4 separate regions of the Homo sapiens genome follow, and all the other regions are linked to region 2. The links are contacts of gene promoters, found by promoter capture Hi-C in blood cells and fetal thymus (Javierre and others, 2016). All regions are on one chromosome and are shown on one strand. Each heading gives the region's core, a stretch centred on a gene start or on the middle of the fragment in contact. The rest is flanking DNA. Distances are from core to core; before and after follow the strand shown.

Region 1 (3,886 bases), core at 695-3,194, 240 kb after region 2:
TGTGTCCTAACTGGAGATAATAATACCTGCCTCCTGGAACTGTTAGGGCAAAGCCTGGAGGCCAGAGGCCAGTATACCACCAGAGGCCAGCATACAACCAGAGCTGGTAGCTTTGGTGATCGTGGTGAAGATGATGGTGATGATGATGGTGACAATGATGGTGACGATGATGGTGATGATGGTGATGATGGTGAGGTAGTGGTGATGACGTGGTGGTGGTGATGAAGATGTTGATGATGGCGGTGATGATGGTGATGGCGATGACTGTGATGGTGGTGGTAGTGATGACATTGAGGATGACGGTGGTGGTGATGATGATGGTAGTGGTGATGACAATGGTGGTGATGACAGTGATGATGGTAGTGGTGATGACAATGGTGGTGATGACGGTGATGATGGTGATGACAGTGGTGATGATGGAGATGGTGATGACGGTGATGATGGCAGTGGTGATGACAGTGACGGTTGTGATGGTGATGATGGTGGTGGTGATGGTGATGATGACGGTGGTGATGAAGGTGATGGTAACAGCGACAGTGATGGTGGTGGGGGTAGATGGTGCCAATGGTGATGGTGGTGGTGGTGATGGTGATGACAGTGATGATGCAGATGGTGATGACGGTGGTGGTGATGATGACAGTGACGGTGATGATGACAGTGGTGGTGAAGGTGATGGTGACAGCAACAATGATGGTGGTGGGTGGAGGTGGGAGGGATGGTGACAATGATGACGGTAATGGTGACAGTGACGATGATAGTGGGGGGTGGGGGTAGGGTGTATGGTGACAGTGGTGTGACGGTGGTGATGATGACAGTGACAATGATGATGATGGTGGTGGTGGTGGTAGAGGTGGGGTGGATGGTGACAATGGTGGTAATGCAGTTCCTAATGGGTGTTTTCTTTTCCTGTCTGCATTGTCTTCCTGAAAGCGGAGGAAAGAGACTCCTCCCTTGCCTCCCCCTTGCCCAGGATGCCTGTGAGGAGCATTCGGGAGCCTCATTACCACTCCCTGGTTTCTATTTCAGGATATTGACTGGGTACAGACAGAGAAGCACGTGTTTGAGCAGGCATCCAGCAACCCCTTCCTGGTCGGATTACACTCCTGCTTCCAGACGACAAGTCGGTAAGAAAAAGAAGGGTATTTCTGATATTCTGCAGATTTCAGATGTGAACTGCACAGAAGCTAAGTCTGGTGTGATGTGTCAACTGTCACCTGTAAGGTTCTCCCAGTTGCTGTACGGGTGTTTTCAGGCCAGCAGACTCTCTTTGTTGTTCTCCTTGGTTGGTGTCATATTAAGTACATTTCATGATCTGAAGTTATTTAATTCCATTTACGAAATACTTACTGGAGGTATCCCACTGAGTGCAGGCATTGGGTCAGGTGCTGGGGCTACAAAAGTAAGCAAAAGAGGTGGATTTCTGTGCTTATTAAAATATGTACAGCTTCACCTTCAAGCTTTATATATACTGGAATTCTGTGGCTTTGAATACATTTGAAAGCTGATGATCTAGGATATTAAATGTATGCCCTGTTTAAAATTTTGGGGGCCAGTTGACTTTGACCTACCTGATTTGTTTATTTGAAGAGTTATTAAGTATGTTCTGCATTGAGTCCTCAAGACCATCCCCAGGTTCGATGATTGGCTAGGAGGACTGCTGGGATCAATCATGGCCGCACTGGGGGCCACAGCTGGCATACTGCACTGGGGAGATAAAGGAGACTTGGCCAAGGAAAAAGGCACATGGGGAAAATTCCAGAAGAAACCAGTCACAAGCTCCCAAGAGCCCTCTCCCAGTTCCTCCAGCAATGAATTGTGACAACTCATGGTTTTTGTCAAGGGCTGGTCATGCAGGCTGCACACGAACCAAAATTCCAGACTCCCAGTGGAGAGCAGGTGTTCAGCATTGCGTTAGTCAGGGTTCTCCTGAGAAACAGAACCAGTTGTGTGCACGTGTGTGTGTGTGTGTAAAGAGATTTATTATAAGATACTGGTTCATGGGATTATGGAGGCTGAGAAATCCTATAATCCGCCATCTGCAGGCTGGAGGCCCAGGAGAGCCAGTGGCACAGCTTGAAGGCCTGAGAGCCAGGAGCTGATGGGGTCGCTTCCAGTCCGGGTCTGAAGGCCTCAGAGCTAGGAGCAAGGGGGCCAGAAGGTGGATAGCTCGGTAGTCAGGGAAACGCAGCCTTCCTCCTCCTTCTTGTTCTCTTCACGTCCCCAGGGGCCTGGATGATGCCAGTCTACTTCAGGGAGGGCCGTCTGCTTACTCTTCCAGAAGCCCCCTCAACAGGCATGCCCGGAAGTCATGTACAGCCAGCTACTAGGGCGTCCCGTGCCCAGTCAAGGTGACCGTTGAATTCACCATCACGAGCATAAGGCATCCTGTTCAGGCACACACAGTTTGGGCACAGCAAGCAGCTCTTATTCCAAAGCTTTTTTTTTTTAATGTGCTTTTCTTGTTTTTGAGATGGAGTCTCGCTCTATCACCCAGGCTGGAGTGCAGTGGCAACATCTTGGCTCACTGCAGTCACCACCTCCTGGGTTCAAGCAATTCTCCTGCCTCAGCCTCCTGAGTAGCTGGGATTACAAGCACCTGCCACCACACCTGGCTAATTTTTGTATTTTTAGTACTCTGTGTTGGCCAGGCGGGTCTCGAACTCCTGACCTCAAGCCATCTGCCCTCTGCAGCCTCCCAAAGTGTTGGGATTACAGGCATGAGTGACTGAGCCCCGCCTCCAGAGTTTTTTTTTTTTTTTTTTTAAATAAAGATAGGGTCTTGCTCTGTCGCCCCAGGCTGGTCTCAAACTCCTGGGCTCCTGCCTCAGCCTCCCAAAGTGCTGGGATTACAGGTGTCCACCACTCTGCCTGGCGGTCATGCAGAAGCATGTTATATCCGTGTAGGGAACTGTTTGCAGTTCACGTTCCCAGCCCCAGCTCCGGGCCAGCTTTGCGGGCCAGGCTTCCTAAGCACAGCGGTCCTAGGCCCTGGGTGCAACCCTCTGCTGCTCGGTTCTTAGCTGTACATCTGGCGACTTGCTCTCCTCCGCTGCACTCTTGGCTCTCCTGACCGCAGGGTCCTGCTCTTGCCTGTGCTTGGCAGCCACCTCTGTCTGTCGGAAGAGCCGGCGTGACCCGGCCGTTCCCCGACCTGCTCTACGTGCGGTGCCGTCCTGGTCAAGGGTTCCTGTTTTCTGGCTGCTTACGCCTCCTAAGTGTGTTTCAGGGTCCCCCACCCTCCCCACCTGACCCCAGGGCTCCCCAGTGTTGGCTTCCCCATGTTGGGCCTGAGCCATATTTGAGAAACACAGATCTGAAGTCTTTTTCCTGCCTCAAAGCTCCTCTGATTCCTCCTCCCCAGTTGCTTCTGGGGTAAATTCCAAGCTTCCTGTGCGTGTGGACGAGGCTTGTGGTGACCAGGCCCCAGTGCCCCATCGTGTGCTTCAGCGTGGCGCCCTCGCCCGCACCGCCTGCGCCTGACGGCTCTGTCCCCTTTCCTTCTGCTCCCCTGCTTCCCGGAGTGAGTCAATGCCTCCCTTTGTGCATTCCCATTGCGCTTTTCCAGGCCTCTTTCCGCCCTGACTGCCATCCCTTGCGATTTGGGAATACGCCCAGGGGAAGGCAGCCCGGCCCCCCACACTTCCTAAATGGTGAGGTTCCAAGAAGGGTTTTGTTTTGCTTTGGTTCTTCTTCATATGTGAACTTGTAGGGATGTAGATGTATAAGGGGTCCGATATCCCACCCTCACTTCCCCTGAGTGGCCCAAAGCTCAGCCCCTTCTGCACTTGTGTCTTTGGACTCTTCTGTCAAGTCACAAGTTCCCAGATGCGTAAACCTGAACTTAAAGAATTGTCGTCTGTGGGGTGTCTGTGGGATCCCCGCAGCG
Region 2 (4,340 bases), core at 1,211-3,710:
GTAGTCCCAGCTACTCGGGAGGCTGAGGCAAGAGAATTGCTTGACCTGGGAGGCAGAGGTTGCAGTGAGCTGAGATCGCGCCACTGCACTCCAGCCTGGAGATAGAGCGGGACTCTGCCTCAAAAAAAAAAAAAAAAAAAAAGTCGAATTCTTTTTTTTTTTTTTGGAGATGGAGTCTCACTCTGTCACCCGGGCTGGGGTGCAGTGGCGCAATCTCGGCTCACTGCATCCTCCACCTCCCAGGTTCAAGCAATTCTCTGCCTCAGCCTCCTGAGTAGCTGGGATTACAGGCACCTGCCACCACGCCCGGCTAATTTTTTTATTTTTTTATTTTTTTTAGTAGAAACAGGGTGTAACCATCTTGGCCAGGCTGGTCTTGAACTCCTGACCTTGTGATCCACCCACCTCGGCCTCCCAAAGTGCTGGGATTACAGGCGTGAGCCACCACACCCGGCCCCCGGAGTCGAATTCTTAAAAACAGAAAGTAGAATAGTGATTGCCATAGGCTGGGGGGCGGGGGGTGGTGGAAGAGGGCAGATGCTGTTTAATGGGGGCGGGGGTCCGTTTTGCAAGGTGAAAGGTTCTAGAGATCTGCTGCATAACTGGGTACGGCCATGAACACAACTGCACTTGCACCTGAACGTGGCTGAGGCAGCATTCTAATTGTTACAGGGTTTTTCTCTTTTTCTGTTTTCTTTTCTTTTCTTTTTTTTTTTTGAGATGGAGTCTCGCTCTGTTGCCCAGGCTGGAGTGCAGTGGCGCGATCTCGCCTCACTGCAAGGTCTGCCTCCTGGGTTCACGCCATTCTCCTGCCTCAGCCTCCGGAGAAGCTGGGACTACAGGTGTCTACCACCACGCCTGGCTAATTTTTTTGTATTTTTTTTAGTACAGTCGGGGTTTCACTGTGTTAGCCAGGATGGTCTCGATCTCCTGACCTCGTGATCTGCCCGCCTCAGCCTCCCAAAGTGCTGGGATTACAGGCGTGAGCCACCGTGCCCAGCCTCTTTTTCTGTTTTCTTATGGAGAATAGCCCTTCGGTGATCAGAAGAGACACAAGAAGGAAAATAAAGATTGGATGAGTCTCAGGTCCTAGAGATACGGGGTATGTCCGAAGGCCACACAGAGGCTGGTCAGCATGAGGAGAGAGGGTTAGAGGGCGAGGACCTGTTCTGCTGCTTGTACTGGGTCTTGGATATGGGTAGAAGCCTAGATGGAGAGGAGAGAGGTTGATGGTGGTTGTGGCCATGTTGCCCCTTCCTACGGGCGGGGCGGGGGGTGTGCCCTCTGCTTTAAGTTGGGCTCCAGGGGTCACAGCTTTGAGTTTCACTCGTAAGCCCATCAGGATGTCTGGAACCTTCAGGGCTGTGGCCCAGGAATGTCAGACGCTGGAAGCCTGGGAACGGAGGAGGCAGAGCCTGCTGTCCACTGGCTGTGAGAGTTGTTGGGGTGGGGACTTGTCCAGGGCCACGAGGCCAGTGCAGTTCTCTGTGTCTCTGTACCCAGCTGGCCTGTACCTGGAGACCCTGAGCCAGAACCCAGGATGGGCCCTGGCCTGGGTGCTGCGGCTCCCTCCATTCTATGCCCCTGGGGGAAGGTGCTCAGTGCGTGAATTGTTCCCTGCCCCAGCCCAGGGGAAAGCTGAGGCCAGGGAGCAGCCAGGATGAAGGTCAGGGCCTCCCTTGGCCCCACCAGACCCAGGGCCGCTTCCCTCCAGCCCCGGCTCCCGTTTGGCTGGAGGTGCCCTGGGCCATTGGCCTGCCCTCGTCAGCGTCAATCTTGCAGTCTCAGCAGCTGGCCTGGGTTTCAGCGGGAGCCATCCTGTAGCTGCAGGTTTGCTGGCAGGCAGAGGGTTGGGCTGGCGGGGGACACTGAGTGCCCCACCTGCTCAGACTCTTCATGCCATCAAGGGGCCAGTCGGGGGGCAGGTGTGAGTGTGACCCTGAGGGCCCTGACCTGCCACTGCAATCCTCACACTCTTGCCTGGGTGGGGCAGGGAGGAGCTGGACCCTGGCTTTGGGAGTCTGGTGGGTAATTAGACCCAGACAGGGAGGGCTCAGTGCGGGTCTGAGGAGGGAACACACGTGTGCAGGCGTGTGCTCCACGGTGGCATGTTGATACGGACCAGCCTGGGCACCAGGCCCCCTCGGGAGCCAGCTTTGCTGTTCTGAGTGGAAGGGAGATCAGGTTTCCCTGAGAAACCCCAAAATAGCCCCCAACTGTGCCTGGCTTCCAGCGGGCAGCCCAGCCCCCAGGCCCTGTTTTGCTCCCTTTCCCCCTTCACCCCCAGCCCATGTCCTGCTGTCTCCTCCCTGAATGGTGGACCCTCAGCCCCTCCTGTACAAGATGGTCAAGCGGTGCCTCATGCATTTGTTCATTCGACCTGTCCTGAGAGTTTGTGACATGCTGGCACGGGGCCAATGTTGAGTCCACCAGGATGGGAGGGTGGCCAGGCTCTGAGCCACTGAGCACCAGCTGGCCAGGATGGGTCTTCAACAAGAAATCTCACTGGTAAGTGATGACAGCATGGGACCAGGGTCCCATGAAGACCTGCTGGAGGGCCGCACCTCTGGGAAGGTAGACTTGGAGCTTGGTCCAGTGAAGAGGGAACAGCACGGGGAACAGCGTGTGTGAGGGTCCCGCCATGTCTCAGCCCTTTCCTGGCCCCCGCACTTAGCCTTCGGTGCCCATCTTCAGGGTCAGGGGAAGCCCAGGCCAAAGCGGGCCGGGAAGGGGCCCTGTGGATAAGGCCGAGAGCCTGTCCCAAAATAGGGCCGGCAGGATTTCCCACCCATAAAAGGCTCTTGGAATCTGGACCCCGGGGACCCCAGGCAGCCAGGCCCAGCTAAAACTCAGCTGCCACCACTGCCCCAGCACTCTGCCCACAGCAGCCCTGGTGTCACCACCCTGCAGAATCCTGTCAGACAACCACCGACATGGTAAGGCTGCTCTCTGTGCCCGATGGAGTCTCTGGTGGGCTGGCTGGGTAGGTTGAGCTGGAACCTGGAGGTGCAATGACCTGCCACGGAGCCTGGGCAGGAAGGGGCTGAGGTAGAAGAGGGGGCCAAGCCCTGCTGCCACCAACACAGCCCTTGTTCCGGGGCCAGGGTGGAGCAGCCCTTTCTGAAAGCTGGCTCCCAGATGGGCAGCAGCAGTGGTGGCAGGCAGGTGTGGCCCGGTGCTGGACTCTCCCTCCGGAATGCCACACAGGCTGGAGCCCAGGGTTCTGCTTCCTGGGCTGTATCCCAATCCTGGGCTGGAAGCCTTTCCCGGGCCAGGGCTGGGCTCCTCCCCACCCTGCTCTCGGCTTCCTTCACCTGCCTCACCTGGTGTCCATTGCCAGGCTCCAGGGCCGCTGCCTGGCCCGCCTGGCCCTGCAGCTGCTGCTGTTCCCTCGCACGCTGGCTCCTGCCTGTCTGGCCCTTGCCCCTGTTAGCTGCCTGGCAGAGCCCTGCTGGCCCTGCAAACCCCTGGCGTGTGACCCCTTGTCCTGGAAGCCTGCTCTCCGCTGGGGGCCTCCTCTCTTACCACTCACCTTGAAAGGCTGCCAATGGAGGAATGGGTGCAGGGGGTACCTCTGACCCTTCCCTGGACACAGGGGCAGAAGGGGCTCCTGGTCAGGCCGGTGCGGGTGTCCCCTGCAGACAGAGCGCCTGTCGGCTGAGCAGATCAAGGAGTACAAGGGAGTCTTTGAGATGTTCGACGAAGAGGGCAACGGGGAGGTGAAGACGGGGGAGCTGGAGTGGCTCATGAGCCTGCTGGGTATCAACCCCACCAAGAGTGAGCTGGCCTCAATGGCCAAGGATGTGGACAGAGACAGTGAGCTCATGGCTGGAGTGGGGTGGGCAGCCTCGGGGGGGCCCTGGGTCAGGTGTCAGTGCCTACGGGGGGAAGAGGCAAAGCCCATGGGGAGTGCTGTGCCCCATCCCTTGAGCCCCAGCTGTGCCCCTTGCAGACAAAGGGTTCTTCAACTGCGATGGTTTCCTGGCACTAATGGGAGTTTACCATGAGAAGGCCCAGAACCAGGAGAGCGAGCTGAGGGCGGCATTCCGTGTCTTTGACAAAGAGGGCAAGGGCTACATTGACTGGAACACACTCAAGTAGGGCCCGGGTTGGGGGCGGGTGGTGGGCGGGCACGGGCAGGGCCGATGGAGTGGCTCAGCGCCAGGCCCCGTAGGTACGTGCTAATGAACGCAGGGGAGCCCCTCAACGAGGTGGAGGCGGAGCAGATGATGAAGGAGGCCGACAAGGATGGGGACAGGACCATCGACTATGAGGGTGAGTGGCCTGGAGCCCTGGGAGCCGTTGGCTGGGCCGGGGCAAGCTGCTGACCTGCCCCTCTG
Region 3 (4,287 bases), core at 934-3,433, 140 kb after region 2:
CTGCTGCAGGTGCAGGTTCCCACTCATCACTGTACCCTGCCAGGCTGCCCCCTCACCCTCTACTCTCTGCCCCCCTTCATGCCCAGCTGATGGGCATGGGGCTTTGTGCCTGTGCGAGGGATAGAGGGGGTTGCCCCATGGAGATGGGGGTGAGGAGTAGATTGCTGAAATGGGCATTAGGTATGCTAGAGACTTCAAGGAAGTGTGGGTGCCAGTCCAGCAGATCTCTGCAGGCAGGTGCTCCTGGAAGAGGGAGTGGCTGTGCAAAGAGGGAGTGGCCGTGCAAAGACGGAGGCCGGGGCAGCAAAGAGGCCTCGAGGCCGGGGCAGAGGAGCTGGCCTTCCCTCCAGGAGTGATGGGAACCACTGGGGGGACTTCGATGACCCAGAAAGATGGAGTGGGGGAAGACGTCAGCTGAGAGGCTCATTAGGAGGATGCCTGGGGCTGGGTGAGTGTTGGTTGGGAGCTCAGGGGGCCCATCTGAGCTGGGGATGCAAAGCGGGCCAAAGGCTGAGGCTGGGGCTCCACAGTTTTAAAAGCTGCAGACCAGGAGGGCGAGGGATGGGAGATTTAGGGAGCTGGAACCCGGGGCCAGGGATGTGTGAGCCTTCCCAGGAGGGGTCTGATACCAAAGGCCAAGTTAAGAAAATGTCTGAGGCCGGGCACAGTGGCTCACGCCTGTAATCCCAGCACTTTGGGAAGCCAAGGCAGGTGGATCACCTGAGGTCAGGAGTTCGAGACCAGCCTGGCCAATATGGAAAAACCCCGTCTCTACTAAAAATACAAAAATCAGCTGGGCATGGTGGTGGACACCTGTAATCCCAGCTACTTGGGAGACTGAGGCAGGAGAATGGTTTGAACCCAGGAGGCAGAAGTTGCAGTGAGCCGACATCATGCCATTGCACTCAGCCTGGGCAGCAAGAGCGAAACTCCATCTCAAAAAAAAGAAAAAGAAAGAAAAAAAGAGAAAACGTCTGAGAACCGACGGCTTGTATTTAAAACGTGTGAGTGGGTGGTGGCAGGAGAGGTAGACAGGGAGCAGGGCCGGCTTGGCGGAAGCTTTGCTGTAGAGAGGGGCAGAGATGGCTCGGTGGGTGGAGGGAGGGGCAAACGGTGTTTAAGAAGAAAAAACGACAGCTTCTGCGTAGGAGAGGGGCCTCCTGTCCATCTCCAGGGAGAACATGGGTTCTGTGGCCACAGGTCTCCCCAGGGCCTGGCATCAAGGAGGCGCCAGGCACGACCTGCGGGATGAAAGCACGTGGCTGAAGTCCTGGTGGCTGTGTCTGGGTGAGGGGTGTGAGGGCGTGGCCTGAGCAGGTCCACTCTCAGGGGAGAGGGGCCGAGGCCAGGAACTGGGTCTGGGTGTCCACCTGGTGCCTGGGTGAGGTCCTGCAGGCAGCAGGTCTGGGCTTCAGTGGATGCAGCCAGTAAGGGATGGGCTGATCAGGGAAAACCGTATTTTCAGGGGAGGAGCCCAGGAGGCAGGGAGCTGGGCGGCGGTGGAGGGGCCTGGAGGGCGATTGTCCAGATCAAGCCCCTCGAGTAAGGCCCGAGAGGCTGTGGCTTCAGAAATGAAGGTCATGGGCGACTCGGGCCAATGCCGCGTCCTTGACCTGGGCGAAGTGAGCGGTTGCACTCACGAGTGTGGACGGCCCTTCCCTACAGGGGACCTTGGATTCGCTGGGGGCGGAGTGGGGGCTGGGGCCCAGAGAACCCGAGTCCGGACGCTCCCGTCCGTGACCCTGGCCGGGTTCTCCGCTCCTCGCAGCTTCAGTCCGCAAGTGTGAGATGTCAGGGGACCCCTGGACGGCGGGGCCCTCGGGCTGGCAGCGCGCGCCGCAGGAGTTTCGATTCGGAGGGTCTGGGCGAAGGCCGAGAACTCGCGTTTCCAGCGAGTTCCCGGGGGCGCCGCTCCGTCCCAGAGGCCGGGGCCCCTCCGGTTGCCGGGCAGAGCCGCGCCGCGCGCGGTCCCATTGGCGCAGGTGCGCCGCGCCCCGCCCAACAGGTAGCCCCGCCCGACAGGTAGCCCCGCCCGCGCCTCGCCATTGGGCCGCGGCCGGGTGTCCCCCGAGGATTGGCCCAGGTGGCGGCCCCGCCTCGCCCTCATTGGCCGCAGGTGCCACCGCCCGCCCCGGGACCGCCCGCCCCGCGGATTGGCCGCTGGCTCCACCTCGGTCCGCCATGTTCGGACACCGCCCCCCGCCCCCGCCGGACGGTCCCGCCCCGCGCGCCCCCCGCTCCCGCCCCGCGCGCCGCCGGAGTTCCGCGGAGTTGACCGGGTCGGCGCCGTCGGTCCTGAGCGCTGCCTTCCGCGTTCCGCCGCGGCCCCACCTGGAGCCCCCGCCCCGCGCCATGGCCGGAGCTCCCGGGGCGCAGCGCTGACGGCGGCGGGGGGAGCGCGCCATGCCCAGCAGGACCGGCCCCAAGATGGAAGGGAGCGGCGGCCGCGTCCGCCTCAAGGCGCATTACGGGGGGTGAGCGGCGGAGAGGGCGGGGAGCGGCGCGGGTGAGGCAGGGAGGGCGGGGAGGGCTCAGCCGTCGGGGCTCCTGCGCGAGAGGGAGAGAGGGAAGGGGCGGCGAGGTCGCTGCGGGCCCGGGGCTGTCGCGGGAGGTCCTCGGTCCCCGCCCGTGAGCGTCACCCGCGGACACGTCGTGGACAGCGCGGGCTCCTTCCCCGGGACCGGGTTTCCCTGGGGTCGGCCCCGCGCCGCGAGCTCCTCGGCCCGGTCATTGTGGTAGACGTTTTCGCTGGAAAGTTGGGCGGGGACGTTCCGGCCGCAAACCTGTAAGGACTGAAAGTTTTCATCAAGTTGTGAAAACTCCTGGCGGGTTTCTTAAAATCAGCGTTTCCTAAACGTTCTCCACGTTTACCCGGTCGGGGGTCTCGCTTTAGCCAAAATCCGGAGACCCGGGGCGCGGGCGCTGTGGCTCCAATGCAGCCCCCGGCAGGGCTCGGGGCGGTCGGGCGGGGACAGGGGTTTCTGGAGGAGACGGTGGGGCCGAGACTGACCCTGGGGTTTGCGTCGCACCCGCCCCCCGGAGGCCCTTGCCTGGCTGTGGGAGGGGGCGCGGTCAGGTGCTGGAGCGGAGGGGTCCTGGACTCTTGGCCGCCGCCTCGGGGCAGCGCTGCTGGGGGTGGCGGGGGCTGCACCAGGTGGCCGGGCTCACAGGCACAGCGGAGGGGTCGCTGCCCCCCGAAGTGTGGGCGGTGGGGAGGGGAGGACCCGTGGGTTTGTTCTTCCACCTGTGCGCGTCTCCAGGAGCCCCGAACTGGGACCTCCGCTCCCGCGAGGGTGGCTGCTGCTGCAGAGAGGGAGGGGAGCAGAATGCGGGCTCCGGACTTGCACTGGCTGGTCCTTGGGATCTCGAAAAGCTGCTCCTGCCCCGGTGCGTCCTCAGCTACAGCGTGGGCAACCTGAGCCCCAGAGGCAGGGACGGCCGGCAGGGTTAGGCGGGTGACAACTTCCCCGGGCCACGTCCTCTCAGGACAGTGCCCCGGGGGTCTCTATGGTGCCCTGCGAGTCTGAGCGGGTTCAGCTTCCTGCGAACCTTGTCTTGGGGTCTCGGGTCAGCCATCTGGGGCTGCTTGGCCCCGGGTTTGTTGAGGAGGCTCAATTGTCTCTTCTTTGGGAAGGTTGGGGCCTCTGCAGCTCCCCTGTGGCAAGCACCTGGAACCTTCGGGGTGCAGTGGCCCGGGTTTGGTGCCAGAACCAGAAGAAAGGGATTTCTGGGGGACTGACCGTCCAGCCCTACCTGAAGAGGTAGGGCAGCCATGTCTTTTGGCCTGGAGGTCAGCAGGTTAAAACTTGGTATGGTTGACGTTCTGGCTATTGGACTTGTCCAGGGACCTGGGCTTCCTGTCTCCTTGCCATTCTGGAGCCACCACACTGGGCAACAGGTGATGGTGCGGAGCTCAGGGGAGTCCTGCGAGAGGGAGGTCCACACCCGAGGGGCTGCAGGGGCCCAGACCCTCCTGCATTCCGGCGTCCAATTCCTGGGACCAAGGCTCGGAGGCAATGCCACTGGAGTTCTGGGCCGCCCCGTCCTCCCTCTGCCTTGCTTTGGCCCCTGGGAGCACTTTGGTGGTGGGGCGGGTGTAATTCCACCCGGTGACTCTGGTTTCCCAGGCTGGAGAGACCAGGCTCCCACCCCTTCCTCTTCCCTCCCTTCCCGGACTCTCTCCCCTCTCTCCCCACCCCTTCCTCTTCCTCCCTCCTTCCCTGTTGTTTTCCCTCCTCTTCCCGCTCTCCCCTCTCTCCCTTCCCTGCCACACCTCTTCCTTCACCT
Region 4 (4,011 bases), core at 932-3,431, 200 kb after region 2:
ATTGAAACAAAACTCCCTAAAACATGAAATCTGAAGCGTTCAACTCCACGAGTTTTTACAAAGCAAACTGCACCGCGTCACATAGCTGATCCGTGTGTAGCTTGTCCTCTGGACGCGGGGCCACCCCCACACCCCGAGGTGACCCCAGGCGTAACCTACCCGTCCCCGGCCTTGGTGCCTGCAGATAGTTTTGCTTGTTTCGAGCTTTTGTCTTGGGATCCGGGGCCATCCACCCTGGGTGTGGCCGCTCAGTCGGGCCCCTGTGTGGGGCTTTCCCGTGGTGTGGGGTGCGGTTCTGCCGTGTCCGTCCCCACTGCGGGGCTGCTCTGCTGGCTGAATTCTCCACGTCTTATGTATCCACCCTCATCTTGCGAGGCACCGGGGTCCCGGCTTTTGGCCACAGACATCCGAGCGCCTTCTGTTGCCCGTGGCGCATCTTTCATGTGGGCACACCCAGGAGTGGAGTTTCCGGGAAACAGACGTTTCCCTCGCGTGGCCGCACCAGGTCGCACTCTGCACTGTGTTTCTGCCTCCAGTTATGTGGGGTTTTCTGCACCCACAGCCACTCTGGCGCCAGCTGGGTGTCCTGTGTTTCCATTCAGCTCTGACATCAATTACCTGACGTTAGCGCAGACCCTGCAGATGAAGGGCTCATTCCCACAAGCCTGCCCCTACTTGAGAGCCAGCTGCAAGTGCCAGGTGACAACCTGGATTCTGACCAACTGGCTGTGAATCGGGGGTGTCCGTGACCCCTTCCTGAGGCTCGGGTGGGCTAGAATAGCTCCCGGAACTCAGGAAAACACTTTGCTTAGTGTACCCGTTTATTAGAAAGGACAGCCACACGGAGGAGCTGCACGGGAGGCTGAGGTATGGGGGGTGCAGAGCTTCCGTGCCCTCTCCAGGCACGCCACCCTCCAGCACCTTGGTATATTCACCAACTCGGACACTCTCCAGACCATGTCATTGAGGGCTTTTTGTGGAGGCTTCGTGACAGGCACGGTTGATTCAACAGCCAGCCACTGCTGATTACCTCAGTCTCTCCTGTCTCCTCTCTGGACCGTGGGCTGTGGGACGGAAAGTTCCAACCCGCTAGGCATTCCTTGGTCCTGCTGAAGACCAGCCGCATCCTGGAGCTGTCCCGGCTCCCGGCTCCCCGTCATCTCATTAGCATGCAAAAAGACACTCTTACCGCACTCCAGGATTCCTAGGGTCAGAGGGGCTGCGCGCTGGGAAACTGAGACAAAGGCTGAATCTGTGTTGATGGCACAGTCACTCTGGGTCGTGTGGGAATTCCCGATGCACCTCCTTCCAGCACATGGACTGTCAGAGCCCTGCGTTGTCGCCAGCACAGCAGATCTGAAAGGCACTAGGCTGTGGCCTCGCGACGGCTGAGGTGAGCTGCTTCTCCGAGGCTCCCGGGTTATTGGGGACCCTCCTTTTAAAGGTGCCTGTTCCAGTCTTTTGCCCCATTTCAAAATTGGGCTGTCAAAGAACAATGTCATTGGGGGGTCCGTCTTTTTTGTTGGTTCCTGGGGGCTGTGTGTGTTTTAGAGACAAGTGCTTTGATTTTTTGTGTTGCAAACAGCTTCTGTCACTCCGCGGCTCGCCTTCCACTCCATGGATGGTGTCTTCTGATGAACAGAAAGTAAAAGCTTACTTTATAATTAGGGCTTTTGCGTCCTGGCTGTGTGTGGGGCCTCTTTCTGGACTGATCTGTCCCCTTTGTTTTTTGCCCCCATGTCGTACTGTTCTGATTTCTTCTGCTTTATAATCACCATTGGTAACTTGTGTTATGAGTCTCCAATTTGGGGTTTTTAGTTTTCAAGGTTATCTTGGTTATTGGCTTTTTACATTTCCATACACATGGGCTTGTTAATAAGCCATTTACAGTTGGCTTATTTGCTTTCAAAATCTCCATAAGACATTTGGATTGCATTTGGATTTCTTGATCAGTATGGGAGATTAGCATCTTTACAATACTGAGGTTTCCAATCCGTGAACATATCTTTAGGCCTTTGATTGGGGTTTTTTTGGCAGGGGAGTTGCGGGGGGCAGACAGGACCTCACTCTTGCCCAGGCTGGAGTGCAGTGGCATGATCATGGCTCACTGCAGCCTTGACCTCCTGGGCTCAAGCAATCCTCCCACCTCAGCCTCCCAAGTAGCTGGGACTACAGGTGTGCACCACCATGCCCAGCTATTTTGGCATTTTTTTGTAGAGACAGGGTCTCCCTATGTTGCCCAGGCTGGTCTTGAACTCCTGGGCTCAAGTGGTCCTTCTGCCTCAGCCTCCTAAGGTGCTGGGATTACAGATGCAAGCCACTGCACCCGGCCTTAAATTCTTTCAATAATATTTTGTAGTCTTGTGTGTAGCGGTCATCCACATTTTTTGTTCAAATGATTCCCTGGTATTTCAGTGCTTATGCTGTTTTAAGCCGTATTACTTTTACAGTTTTTTTTTTTTTATCTTTTTGTTTATAGCAATGTGTAAAGAAGTGTGATTAACTCATTTGTCTTGGCCTCTCCTGGTCCCCGTAGTTTGTCTGTGGTTGCTCCGGAACCTCTCTGTGCGCTGCCATTTTGTCAGTGACCGGCTGTTTGTTTCTGCCTTTCCTTCAGATGTTGCCTTGTTACCCTGGCACTGTTGATCCTTCCAAAACAGTATGGGACAGAAGTGGTGACAGCCACATCCTCTCGTGCCTGATTTCAGGGAAAAGCTTTAAGAATTCCACCATTAAGGGTGCTGTTTGCGGAAATACTGTTTTTCCTTCGTAAATCCCCACCAACAAATTAAAGAGGTTCTATTTTATTCCTAGTTGAAAGTTGTTAATATGAATGGTGCTGAATTTTTTCAGATGCTTTTTTTCCTTCATCTATTGATGTGACAGAACTTTTCTCCTTTATTCTGTTCATACGATGAATTCTATGGATTGGCTCTTAATGGTAGACCGATGGCATTCCTGTAGTGTGCCTCGTTTGGTTGTGATGAGTTCGCCTTTTTATATTTTGCTTGATTCAGTTTGCTATTATTTTGTTTGTTGTTTTTGCAACTGTATTTATGAGAGAGATTAGCCTATTATTTCTTTTTTTTTTTTTTTTGGAGTCTCACTCTGTCACCCAGGCTGGAGTGGAGTTCAGTGGCCCGATCTGGGCGCACTGCAACCTCCGCCTCCCTGGTTCAAGCGATTCTCCTGCCTGAGCCTCCTGAGTAGTTGGGATTACAGGTGTGTGCCACCACGCCTGGTTAATTTTTGTATTTTTAGTAGAGACAGGGTTTCACCATGTTGGCCAAGCTGGTCTTGAACCCCTGACCTTAGGTGATCCGCCCGCCTTGGCCTCCCAAAGTGCTGGGATTACAGGTGTGAGCCACCATGCCTGGCCATATCTTCCTTTTGATTGATGCTTTTATCATCATGAAATGTTTTTGTTTTTTTTTTTTTGAGACAGAGTGTCGCTCTGTCCCCCAGGCTGGAGTGCAGTGGCACCATCTCCACTCACTGCAAGCTCTGCCTCCTGGGTTCACGCCATTCTCCTGCCTCAGCCTCCTGAGTAGCTGGGACTACAGGTGCCTGCCACCGCGCCTAGCTAATTTTTTATATTTTTAGTAGAGACGAGGTTTCACCGTGTTAGCCAGGATGGTCTCGATCTCCTGACCTCCTGATCCGCCTGCTTCGGCCTCCCAAAGTGCTGGGATTACAGGCGTGAGCCACTGTGCCCGGCCAAATGTTGCTCTTTAGATGAAAATATTATTGTCATTAACATCTGATCTGTATGATGTTAGTGTGACCACACCAGCTCTGTGTGTGTGTGTGTGTGTGTGTGTGTGTGTGTGTGTGTGTGAGATGAGGGGAGGGAGGGAAGGGGACTTAGTGTTTATATGCTCTATTTTTTCATCCTTTCACTTTCTTTTCTGTATATTTTGGAAATGACTCTTAAAAGCAGAAGTTAGTTATTTTTAATCCAGTCTGAAAATGGCTGTGTTTTAAATGAAAGATTTAGTCCGTTTACATTTA

Evidence for each region. The method cuts DNA at HindIII sites, captures the fragments that hold promoters and counts their contacts. A CHiCAGO score of 5 or more calls a contact.
Region 1: a contact is called between a fragment that was not itself captured here and the fragment with the promoter of CALML6 in region 2, in 1 of 17 cell types (endothelial precursors). The highest score is 5.6, in endothelial precursors.
Region 3: a contact is called between the fragment with the promoter of PRKCZ here and the fragment with the promoter of CALML6 in region 2, in 1 of 17 cell types (endothelial precursors). The highest score is 5.3, in endothelial precursors.
Region 4: a contact is called between a fragment that was not itself captured here and the fragment with the promoter of CALML6 in region 2, in 2 of 17 cell types (M1 macrophages and endothelial precursors). The highest score is 6.4, in M1 macrophages.

Annotation. Positions count from the first base shown.
Region 1 is chr1:2,154,969-2,158,854 of GRCh38, forward strand. It overlaps PRKCZ (protein kinase C zeta), which reads left to right. Exons shown (of 18, transcript NM_002744.6): 10 at 1,027-1,124. Among named protein-coding and RNA genes, the nearest start is that of PRKCZ-AS1, 27 kb to the right of the region's middle. The HindIII fragment of the contact is 978 bases long and covers 1,456-2,433 here.
Region 2 is chr1:1,912,800-1,917,139 of GRCh38, forward strand. It overlaps CALML6 (calmodulin like 6), which reads left to right and starts at 2,461. Exons shown (of 6, transcript NM_138705.4): 1 at 2,461-2,508; 2 at 2,886-2,936; 3 at 3,642-3,816; 4 at 3,953-4,097; 5 at 4,175-4,275. The coding sequence starts at 2,482. RefSeq lists an enhancer at 1,282-1,968. The HindIII fragment of the contact is 9,795 bases long and covers 1-4,340 here.
Region 3 is chr1:2,048,228-2,052,514 of GRCh38, forward strand. PRKCZ (protein kinase C zeta) reads left to right here and starts at 2,184. Exons shown (of 18, transcript NM_002744.6): 1 at 2,184-2,474. The coding sequence starts at 2,404. It overlaps PRKCZ-DT (PRKCZ divergent transcript), which reads right to left and starts at 1,843. Exons shown (of 3, transcript NR_135509.1): 1 at 1,641-1,843; 2 at 1,371-1,439; 3 at 974-1,241. RefSeq lists a silencer at 1,762-2,371. The HindIII fragment of the contact is 10,768 bases long and covers 1,058-4,287 here.
Region 4 is chr1:2,114,918-2,118,928 of GRCh38, forward strand. All of the region lies in intron 4 of PRKCZ (protein kinase C zeta), which reads left to right. Among named protein-coding and RNA genes, the nearest start is that of PRKCZ, 67 kb to the left of the region's middle. The HindIII fragment of the contact is 1,063 bases long and covers 1,651-2,713 here.